2 separate regions of the Homo sapiens genome follow, and region 1 is linked to region 2. The links are contacts of gene promoters, found by promoter capture Hi-C in blood cells and fetal thymus (Javierre and others, 2016). All regions are on one chromosome and are shown on one strand. The core of a region is centred on a gene start or on the middle of the fragment in contact, and the rest is flanking DNA. Distances in the headings are between cores, read along the strand shown.

The links. The method cuts DNA at HindIII sites, captures the fragments that hold promoters and counts their contacts. A CHiCAGO score of 5 or more calls a contact.
Region 1: a fragment that was not itself captured here is called in contact with the fragment with the promoter of PSMC5 in region 2 in 3 of 17 cell types (endothelial precursors, erythroblasts and naive CD4 T cells); the score reaches 5.7 in endothelial precursors.

Annotation. Positions count from the first base shown.
Region 1 is chr17:63,718,704-63,723,395 of GRCh38, reverse strand. It overlaps STRADA (STE20 related adaptor alpha), which reads left to right. Exons shown (of 13, transcript NM_001003787.4): 4 at 70-98. Among named protein-coding and RNA genes, the nearest start is that of STRADA, 21 kb to the left of the region's middle. The HindIII fragment of the contact is 2,715 bases long and covers 848-3,562 here.
Region 2 is chr17:63,825,653-63,830,177 of GRCh38, reverse strand. It overlaps PSMC5 (proteasome 26S subunit, ATPase 5), which reads right to left and starts at 2,747. Exons shown (of 12, transcript NM_002805.6): 1 at 2,664-2,747; 2 at 1,969-2,040; 3 at 615-684; 4 at 229-326; 5 at 1-45. The coding sequence starts at 2,687. FTSJ3 (FtsJ RNA 2'-O-methyltransferase 3) reads left to right here and starts at 2,515. Exons shown (of 21, transcript NM_017647.4): 1 at 2,515-3,126; 2 at 3,250-3,342; 3 at 3,506-3,611; 4 at 3,874-3,920; 5 at 4,043-4,122. The coding sequence starts at 3,276. RefSeq lists enhancers at 2,357-2,406, 2,787-3,066, 2,203-3,402. The HindIII fragment of the contact is 8,506 bases long and covers 1-4,525 here.

The DNA of each region.
Region 1 (4,692 bases), core at 956-3,455, 110 kb after region 2:
TGCTGTTCTGAATGTGGGTGTGTCTTCTGCTAAAACACAAAATGCCAACAATCAATTTCTCTACCCCAGAGCAGCCTCCGGGTGACACTCGGAGAAAAGTAAGTGGCTTCCTAGGCCCTAGCACTATGGCTGTTGCATGGAGATGACTTCTTGTGGAAGTTTGTGTGTTTTGTTGGCTTATCATTTTATGTTTCTGCTTATCTGTCACTGAGCTTTATTTGTAGTGTGATTTTTGTACTTGTGGAGATTCAGGTTTCACCCTGGAAAAATTTGGATGTGTAGTTTGAAAACTGAAAAAAGTCTCAGGTAGTTTTTGTCTCTTCTGGGGATTAAGGTCTCCTCCTCTCCCCAGCCCTGCCAATCGACTGCCACCCCTTCCCCCAAAAAAGTAAGTTTCAACAGTCAGAAATACGGTTATTGTTTAGTGACTAATGTTATTAAATTTTCCGTCCTTAGTTTATTAATAATAGATTTTAGTCCACAGAGATAATACAGATCTCTGCCTAGATAATAAGACAGGACCTCAAATCTCTTACCTTAAAAAACAAAAGCAAAATTAAAAAGTATAAAACAGAACATTTACTTTTTTCATTGGTGAAAGCTGCAAGATTCTTACCCTGTTTCCTTCTCTTCTAGTTTATTTTACTTAAATAAATAGCACCAGATGTGCACAGTGTACCAAGCTATTTTGGAATATATGAATCAGTGTCTTATAAGGAGAGAGGATAAGAACCTTTCCTACCTAGACTTCTGACTCTGTTCAGATTGCAGACATTTGCAGCTTCTGCAGCAGCCCTAAGGTTGAGTGAAGGACAGTGATGTTGACTGGGAATTTCTGAGTAAAGCTTTGGCTGTGCTTATGTCATCTGCTAATCAGGAGCACCTCTCTATCAGATCCAAATGCTTTCCAATCTGAAGACCAAAAACGTTCCCTATAGGCTCAGTTAGCTATTTTTCTAGAATACGATGCCAATTACATAGGATTTTTATATTTTTACAGCTGCTGATGTTATATCAAAAGTTATCCTGTGTGAAACCTGTGGGAAGTTGAATGTGTTTATTTGGTAGCATTTTGTGAATATTGTCTTTGTGTGCTTTACTGTATTTTGTTTTAAACTCTTTAAACACAGTTATTTTATGGTCATTTCTGGATATCAGCTGCTTATTTATTTTTCAGATGCTTCAAAATGAATAAAATGCATTTCATGGTGGGGGAAACTAAGAAAACACTTTGACAGAATTAGTTCCTTTCTATGAGCAATTGGAGATTATTACATTGCACTAATTAAACTATGCCATGCTGCATTTAAAGAGAATGGGCTAAATAGTTCATTCTTTTTATCTGAGTTTAGACCTGTTCTAAAACTGAAACAGTGTGATGAACTAACCTGCGTTTCTTGTGGCAATGTCAGATGATCTAGACTTCTTCCTTTCAAAATATTGCCTGTTTCCTTGTTTGTTTGTTTGTTTTCCTAAATGAAGTTTGGTCTCTCTTTGAGTTCGGACCTATACAATATCCACAAAGTAGAAGGCCTCCATTTTAGAATCATTCCTAGTAAGCTGGGGACAGAGCAGTTGCTATCACTGGACTAGTTCATTTTATGCAATTCCAGATTGCCTGTGAGCTCATATTGCCAGTTTCATAAAGAACTTTATTTTCTTTCTTTCTTTTTTTTTTTTTTGAGACCGAATCTCACTCTGTTGCCCAGGCTGGAGTGCAGTGGTGCGATCTCGGCTTACTGCAACCTCTGCCTCCTGGGTTCAAGCAATTCTCCTGCCTCAACCTCCCGAGTAGCTGGGATTACAGGCCTGTGCCATCACACCCAGCTAATTTTTATATTTTTAGTAGAGACAGGGTTTCACTATGTTGGCTGGTCTCGAACCCCTGACCTCAAGTGATCTACCCTACTCAGCCTCCCAAAGTCCTGGTATTACAGGCGTGAGCCACCGTGCCCAGTCAAGAACTTTTTTTTTTTTTTTTGAGATGGAGCTTCACTTTATTTTTTTTTATTTTATTTTTTCTTGAGACGGTGTCTCACTCTGTCACCCAGGCTGGAGTGCAATGGCATGATCTCGGCTCACTGCAACCTCCACCTCTCGGGTTCAAGCGATTCTCCTGCCTCAGCCTCCCGAGTAGCTGGGACTACAGGCACCCGCCACCACGCCCAGCTAATTTTTATACTTTTAATAGAGACGGAGTTTCACCATGTTGTCCAGGATGGTCTCGTTCTCTTGACCTTGTGATCCGCCTGCCTCGGCCTTCCAAAGTGCTGGGATTACAGGCGTGAGCCACCACGCCCAGCCGGAGCTTCACTTTTGTTGCCCAGGCTGGAGTGCAATGGTGCAATCTCAGCTCACTGCAACGTCTGCCACCTGGGTTCAAGCGATTCTCCTTCCTCAGCCTCCCAAGTAGCTGGGATTACAGACATGTGCCACCACACCCAGCTAATTTTTTGTATTCAGTAGAGACAGGGTTTCACCATGTTGGTCAGGCTGGACTCGAACTCCTGACCTCAGATGATCCACCTGTCTCAGCCTCCCAAAGTGCTGGGATTACAGGCGTGAGCCACCATGCCTGGCCAAGAACTTTATTTTCTTTTTTTACTTTTTTTTTTTTTTTTTTTAAACAGTCTCGCTCTGTCGCCCAGGCTGGAGTGCAGTGGCGCGATCTCAGCTCACTGCAAGCTCTGCCTCCCCGGGTTCACGGCATTCTCCTGCCTCAGCCTCCCGAGTAGCTGGGACTGCAGGTGCCCGCTGCCATGCCCAGCTAATTTTTTGTAGTTTTAGTAGAGACAGGGTTTCACTGTGTTGGCCAGGATGGTCTCAATCTCCTGACCTTGTGATCCGCCTGCCTCGGCCTTCCAAAGTGCTGGGATTACAGGTGTGAGCCACCTCGCCCAGCCCCCAGAACTTTATTTTCTAAAGGCCAGGTGTGGTGGCTCACACCTGTAAACCCAGCACTTTGGGAGGCTGAGGCAGGAGGATGACTTGAGGCCAGGAATTTGAAGCCAGCCTGGGCAACATAGTGAGACCCCATCTCTAAAAACAAAAAAACTAGCCAGGCATGGTAGCGCACACTGGTAGTCCTAGCTACCCAGGAAGATGAGGCAGAAAAATCCCTTAAGCCCAGGAGTTCAAGGCTGCAGTGAGCTAGGATAGCGCCATTGCACTCCAGCTTGGGAGACAGAGTGAGACTCTGTCCCTAATTAAAAAAAAAAAAAATTAGCTTGGCATGGTGGCATATACCTGGGAGGCTGAGGTGGGAGGATCCGCTTGAGCCCTGGAGTTCGAGGCTGTAGTGAACTATGATCATGCCACTGTACTCCAGCCTGGGTGACAGAGTGAGACCCTGTCTCAAAAAAAAAAAAGAAAAAGAATTTTATTTTCTAAAACTAATACTTTTGGGTTAGTTTTGGTAGTTTTCTGTAATACTGGAGAGTAGAAATAAATATTGTCAAGTTACTAACTAAGCACATTGATAGTTTAATGAATCATTCCCTACCTAGGCTTAGCAAGAATGTGTCTTAGTGTATAGCCTAGTAGACAATATGTCTTATAAGCTTATATGCACGCCTGACAAGGAAGAGGGACATAGGTAATGAAGTATCTATCTGCCGGGCGCCATGGCTCACGCCTGTAACCCCAGCACTTTGGGAGGCCGAGGTGCGCGCATCACCTGAGGTCAGGAGTTTGAAACCAGCCTGGCCAACACAATGAAACCCCATCTCTACTAAAAATGCAAAAATTAGCCGGGCATGGTAGCACGCACCTGTAATCCCAGCTACCCAGGAGGCTGGGGCAGGAGAATCACTTGAACCTGGGAGGTGGAGGTTGCAGTGAGCCGAGATCGCGCCATTGCACTCCAGCCTGGGCGATAGAGCGAGACTCTGTCTCAAAAAAAAAAAAAAAGTAGTATCTATCTGTGGTTTCTCCAAAGGGAGTTATTTAAAGTACATAAAATGAATATTTGAATCTCAGGACTCAGCTGTCTTTCATAGTCTCTTTTTCAAGTGAGAGAAATTTTAAGGAGTTTGCTTAGAGAGCAGATGCACGAAGACCTTCAGATACAAAGTAGTTGCCTCTCATTGAGGCCATATTGTTACCTACTGAAAAATGCAGTACTTTCTCACATGCAGGAATCAGATTCTGGTCTATAGAGTGTTCTGAGTAACACAGGAATCTAACGACTGTGTCATTATGAGGCTGGCATTTCCAGCATAGGTCATCATGCTGAACCCGTTACCAAAGGAACTGGCTGCATTGACCTATTCTCTTCTTTAGCCCGTGGGAATGAAAAGATCATGGGCAGAAAGCCTCAGTTCAAACTTTGCTTAAATCATTTTCATTTTTTAAGCATTTGCCAGCGGTGTTCCAGGCACTGGGGGAATACATCAGTGAACATGACAGACAAGGTCCCTGCCTTTCTGGTGCTTGCATTTTAATGGAAGAAACTTTAGTGGAAGATTTTAGAGAAATAAGCTGCAATGGTAACTTCTGTGAAGAAAGGAAAGCAAGGCTGTCTGATAACGTGACCAGGAGCCTAGTTTACTTTGGCTGGGCAGTCTCTCTGAAAAGGACATTTAAGTTGAGACATCAGTGATGTTGAGGAGGTAGCCATGAGAAAAATAGCAGGGTCAAGGGAAGGAGGAGGCTAGGAGGGTTCCAAAGGGACAGTTAGTGCAAGTTTCCTGA
Region 2 (4,525 bases), core at 1,498-3,997:
AATGTTTTTGTCCACGTCTACAACAAATTTACCTTCAGGATGTACCTAAAGAAACAAGGGCTCATGACCTTCCTTGACAGCCACCAAATCACTAATCCTACCCAGGAAGACCTATGAGAATCCCACAATACCTTGACAGAACACAGAACCCTGTCTCCCGAGGCTACACACAAAGGGGTGGGAATGCAGTGGAGACCGAGCTGGTCCCTGGGGTCATGCTGCTTTTACCTTGACCAACACTTTCTTCTTATCCATGGCCCGGACTACTTCCCCCACATAGGAGCCCTGCTCCTGCAGCAGCTGTAGCTCCTCCCGCAATAGGCGAACTAGATGGCAAACAGACACAGTGGTCACCTAGCTACTCCTTTGGAGTCTCCAGGACCCAATTCTACGTGCATGAGCTAAGCATCACTCTTATTAAAGGAAGGCCAAAGGTCAAAATTCATGTATTTAAGGAGGCTACAATAGGGCTCAGGAAAAAGAGATGCATGTGAAACTACTAGATGATGACAGGGAGAAAACAGTAAGCACTGCTGTGAAGACACAGTGCAGGGAGATAAGGACAGACCTCAGACAAACTGCCCACATGCGGCTTCCCATCTTTCTCCACTCACCTTTAGCATTTAGTTCGTTCCTCTGTGCCTGCAGCCTCCGGAGGTTTTGGCTCTTATCATTCACAATCAGCTGTGGCAGACAAGAGACAAATTCCATTATTCAAGGGCAGGAGACAGGAGGAGGTAGGATCTTGGCCAAGACCTCACAGGTCTGAATGAGCTGAGGGAAGGGCACAGGGCACCTGCATGTTGTTTCAGATTCTCCAGTATGATCCTAATGACCCTGCCCTGTCCTTCAAGAGTCCCTCTGGACCTTACAGCAGCCATCAAAGAAGGCTGCTTGTCCAATACTGGTCCAGGAGTAACAGAATCTAATGGAGAAAAGTTACAGCTGGCTCATGTAACACCAAATTTCTTGCAGGAAGGCAACAACACCTGGTGGAAAGATTGTTAGGTGAGAAACCTGAGTTCTAGCCCAGCCGCTGTCAATCAAAAGCAAAGTAAAGGTAAGACAATCTATTTTTAAAAATCTAGATCTGTTACCAAACGGCACATGGGTATAGCATCAGCTACCCTGCTTCAAGACTACTAAGGTGAACGAATAAAAACACATGAAAAAGCATTCAAAAATGGTAAACTAAACATAATACCTGCAAATGCACTTGGAATTCAGAATTGTCTTTTGTGGCTTTCCCCCATCCAATTTATATTACAGTTGACACTTGAACAACGCAGGGGGTTAGGGTGAAATTGAAAATCCATGGACCTGTCCAAAGTTAAACTACTAACAGCCTACCGTAACAGTATAACGTAACACTAACAGACTACTGTTTATGTTGTCTGTAAGGCTTACTACTGGAAGCCATACCTTACTGCTGGAAGCCTTACTGGTAACACAAACATTTGATTAACAACATAAACGGTCCTTTTTCTATGGTTTAGCGCTTTAGGCTAGGGCTCTGGGTTGCCCAATTTCTTTCATTCAGTCTCTATGGAATTAGCATTGTCCAGATCCCTCAATGATGCCCTTCCTCACATTCTCACTTCACCCTCACCCAACCTCTTGGTGATAAATTTCAACTCCTGAGCTTATGTTTCCCTTTTATAAGAATCCTTTTCATTCGGGCTTCTTCCAAAAGGGTTGACCTTTGGCTAGAGGTACCTTTACTATTAAGATTTGACTCGAAGATGTGTAACAAACTGTGAACACTAAGACCCTCAAAGAGATGGGACTGGAGGAGAACAAGAGATTGCTTACTTCTGATACATACACCCTACTAGCTAAGAAACAAACAAGAAAGGAGAAGCAGCAGCTTCTTCCACTGCACTCCCAAAGGAATTAGATGGATTTGTGGAAGTCCGTTTCCATCCCCCATCATCACCCTTCCTAGCTCCCTCTGGAGTCCGTCCTCACCTGGAGTTCTTCAATCTTGGACAGATAATATTGGCGGAGTCCGCTGCCTGCCTTCCCCTCCTCCAGCTCCATCTGAAGACACAGAGTGAGTCTTAAACGACAGGTTAAACATCCGAGGGGGTAAAGCCACTTGCAGGGCACTTTGAATAAGGCTTGACACCAGGTAGCTTTGCGTAGTAGAAAAAGTTTGGACTTCGGAGGCTCAGGATCTGGGTTCTAATCCCTCCCTCCCTTGGAACCCTCCATTTTCCCAGGACTAAAATAAAAGAATGGGAACGCCGCCTACCTCATACGACTTTTAGGAGGACCGAGAGGCGATATGATATAGACGGGGGGCGCTTTGCACTGCGTGAAGTGCTCTACAAGCCCGAGGTGTCAGTACTGACGAAGGAGCCAGCGGAACGGAGCCAAAGGACTGGCGTCCCGTCTCCTGCGACCCGTGGGCCGGCCATTCCCGCGCCCATCGCTTCCCTCACTCACTCCGCTTCTACCGCGTCTTCCTCTCCCAGCCTTGCCCTGACTCACCGAGGGCGGCGCTGACACAGCAGATCCGGTCGCAGGCAGCGTCCAGCATGGACTGGTCCAGGCACCTCCGACCCACCCGACGCTCCTGCCCCGGCCCGCTCTCCACTCAGATCACGCTCGCTCCGCACCCAGCCCCGTAACCTGCCGGGCCGCCACTGCACCCGCCATACCTGCTCTGGTCCGTCAAGCGCCATCTTCTCTCTTCAGCAGAGACCGCCGGCATCCGAGCCGTCTTGGCGCGCAAGCGCGGAAGCGGAGGATTGGGACCTGAAGACCAGGCAGAGAAGAATTCCGGGTCAATGGGCGGGGTGTGCGGCGAGACCACACTAAGGGAACCATGATGGGAGGGGCGGCTACTCGAGTTCAGGGGCTTTGGAAGGGGATGAGGAAGGAGTAGAACTCCTCCTCAGTGTTGCCTCATTGAAACTCTGTTTATAGTTCTTGTGATATGCCTTCCTAGTCTCAACTTTCAACTTACAAAACCCAAGGACAGAGTATTGAGAACAATCTAGGGCCACACTCAAAATGGCGGAAAACCTCGAGCCAGGGACGCAGGGGACGCAAGCGGAAGCGGAAGTAGTTAGCTGCATACTTGTGCGGTTCCAAGTGTGGAGAAAGCGGCTCTGGGTCTAGGTAGTGTGCGGAGAGGGGCGCGGGGTGGAATTGCTGCGGGAAGTGGGAAACTGGAAGTGGGAAACTGGAAGTGGAATCTGGTGCTCCGGAAAGAGACGTTCCCAACTTCTACTTTCTCCCCAGATTGAGGGATACTCCCCCTTTCCACCATGGGCAAGAAGGGCAAAGTTGGCAAGAGCCGACGAGACAAGTTTTATCACTTGGCGAAGGAGACGGGTGAGTCCGGATTCGCTCAGTCTGCGAGCGAGCGAGCGATCTCTGCCCGGTTCGCCTGCTCTTTGCGACCATTATGTACCTCTCCTGCAGAAGGGGTGGTCGGTTGCGAGGCCGGAGAAATCCTACTAGTGAAGCAGTTTGCGCACTTGGTTGTTTTGTCCAGGTTACCGTTCCCGATCTGCTTTCAAGCTGATCCAGCTCAATCGCCGCTTTCAGTTCCTGCAGAAAGCCCGAGCCTTGCTGGACCTGTGTGCTGCGCCAGGGGGATGGTTCGTAACACTCGCCACAGGTTGCTCCTGGTGGCCGCTTTCTGGGTTCTGAGCTGGGATGGCTTCCAGTTTCACTGCGGGAGGGGAACCCGAATCCCGGTCCTCTTGGGGGCCGTTTCCTTTCTTGATTGCAGAGAAAGGGCTTGGAATACGTGCCTATGATATGCTTTGGCCAGTACACGTAACACCAGGGATGAGAGATCAGTTGCCAAGAGGGGGAAAAGGATGGCTCTAGGTTTTTAAATTTCTGTTCCTTTTATAGGCTGCAGGTAGCTGCCAAGTTTATGCCTGTATCCAGCCTTATTGTGGGTGAGTAACGGACAGCTCTCCTTGGTGTTTTAAGGGGTGGGTGTATAAGGTATTTTGTCCTGTATTTCTCTCCTCCCTGCTTGAAGCAACCTTTTAGAATACTCTGACCTGATTTCTTCCAGGAGTGGACCTGGTTCCAATCAAGCCTCTCCCCAATGTGGTGACTCTCCAGCAGGACATCACAACAGAACGTTGTAGGCAGGTAATAGGAGTCTCTCTCTTCCTTCCCCCTTTATACGGAAACATCTACATCCCTGAAATCCTCTAAAGGCAAGTTTTTCCTTTTTACCGTGCTTTGAGCACGTTCTTGCCTGACATCTGTACGACAAGACCTATGGCATTCGTAGTGTCCACTCCAGGCTTTATTTAGAGTCAGGGATAAAGGTGTTTGGAATTGGGAGAAGGGCAGAGATCTTTAGTGAAGTCTTCTCCTGTGAATTCAGTGTCAGACTGTAATCTCCATGAAGGTAGAGACATACTGTTTTTGTTTACTATTGTATCTCCTGTGCCTGGTACTGCATTTGGCCCATGATGGGCACTCAGCAAATGACTAGATGGACAAATGGCTGAACCAGGGCCATTCCAGTGTTTCTGTTTCCATAGTT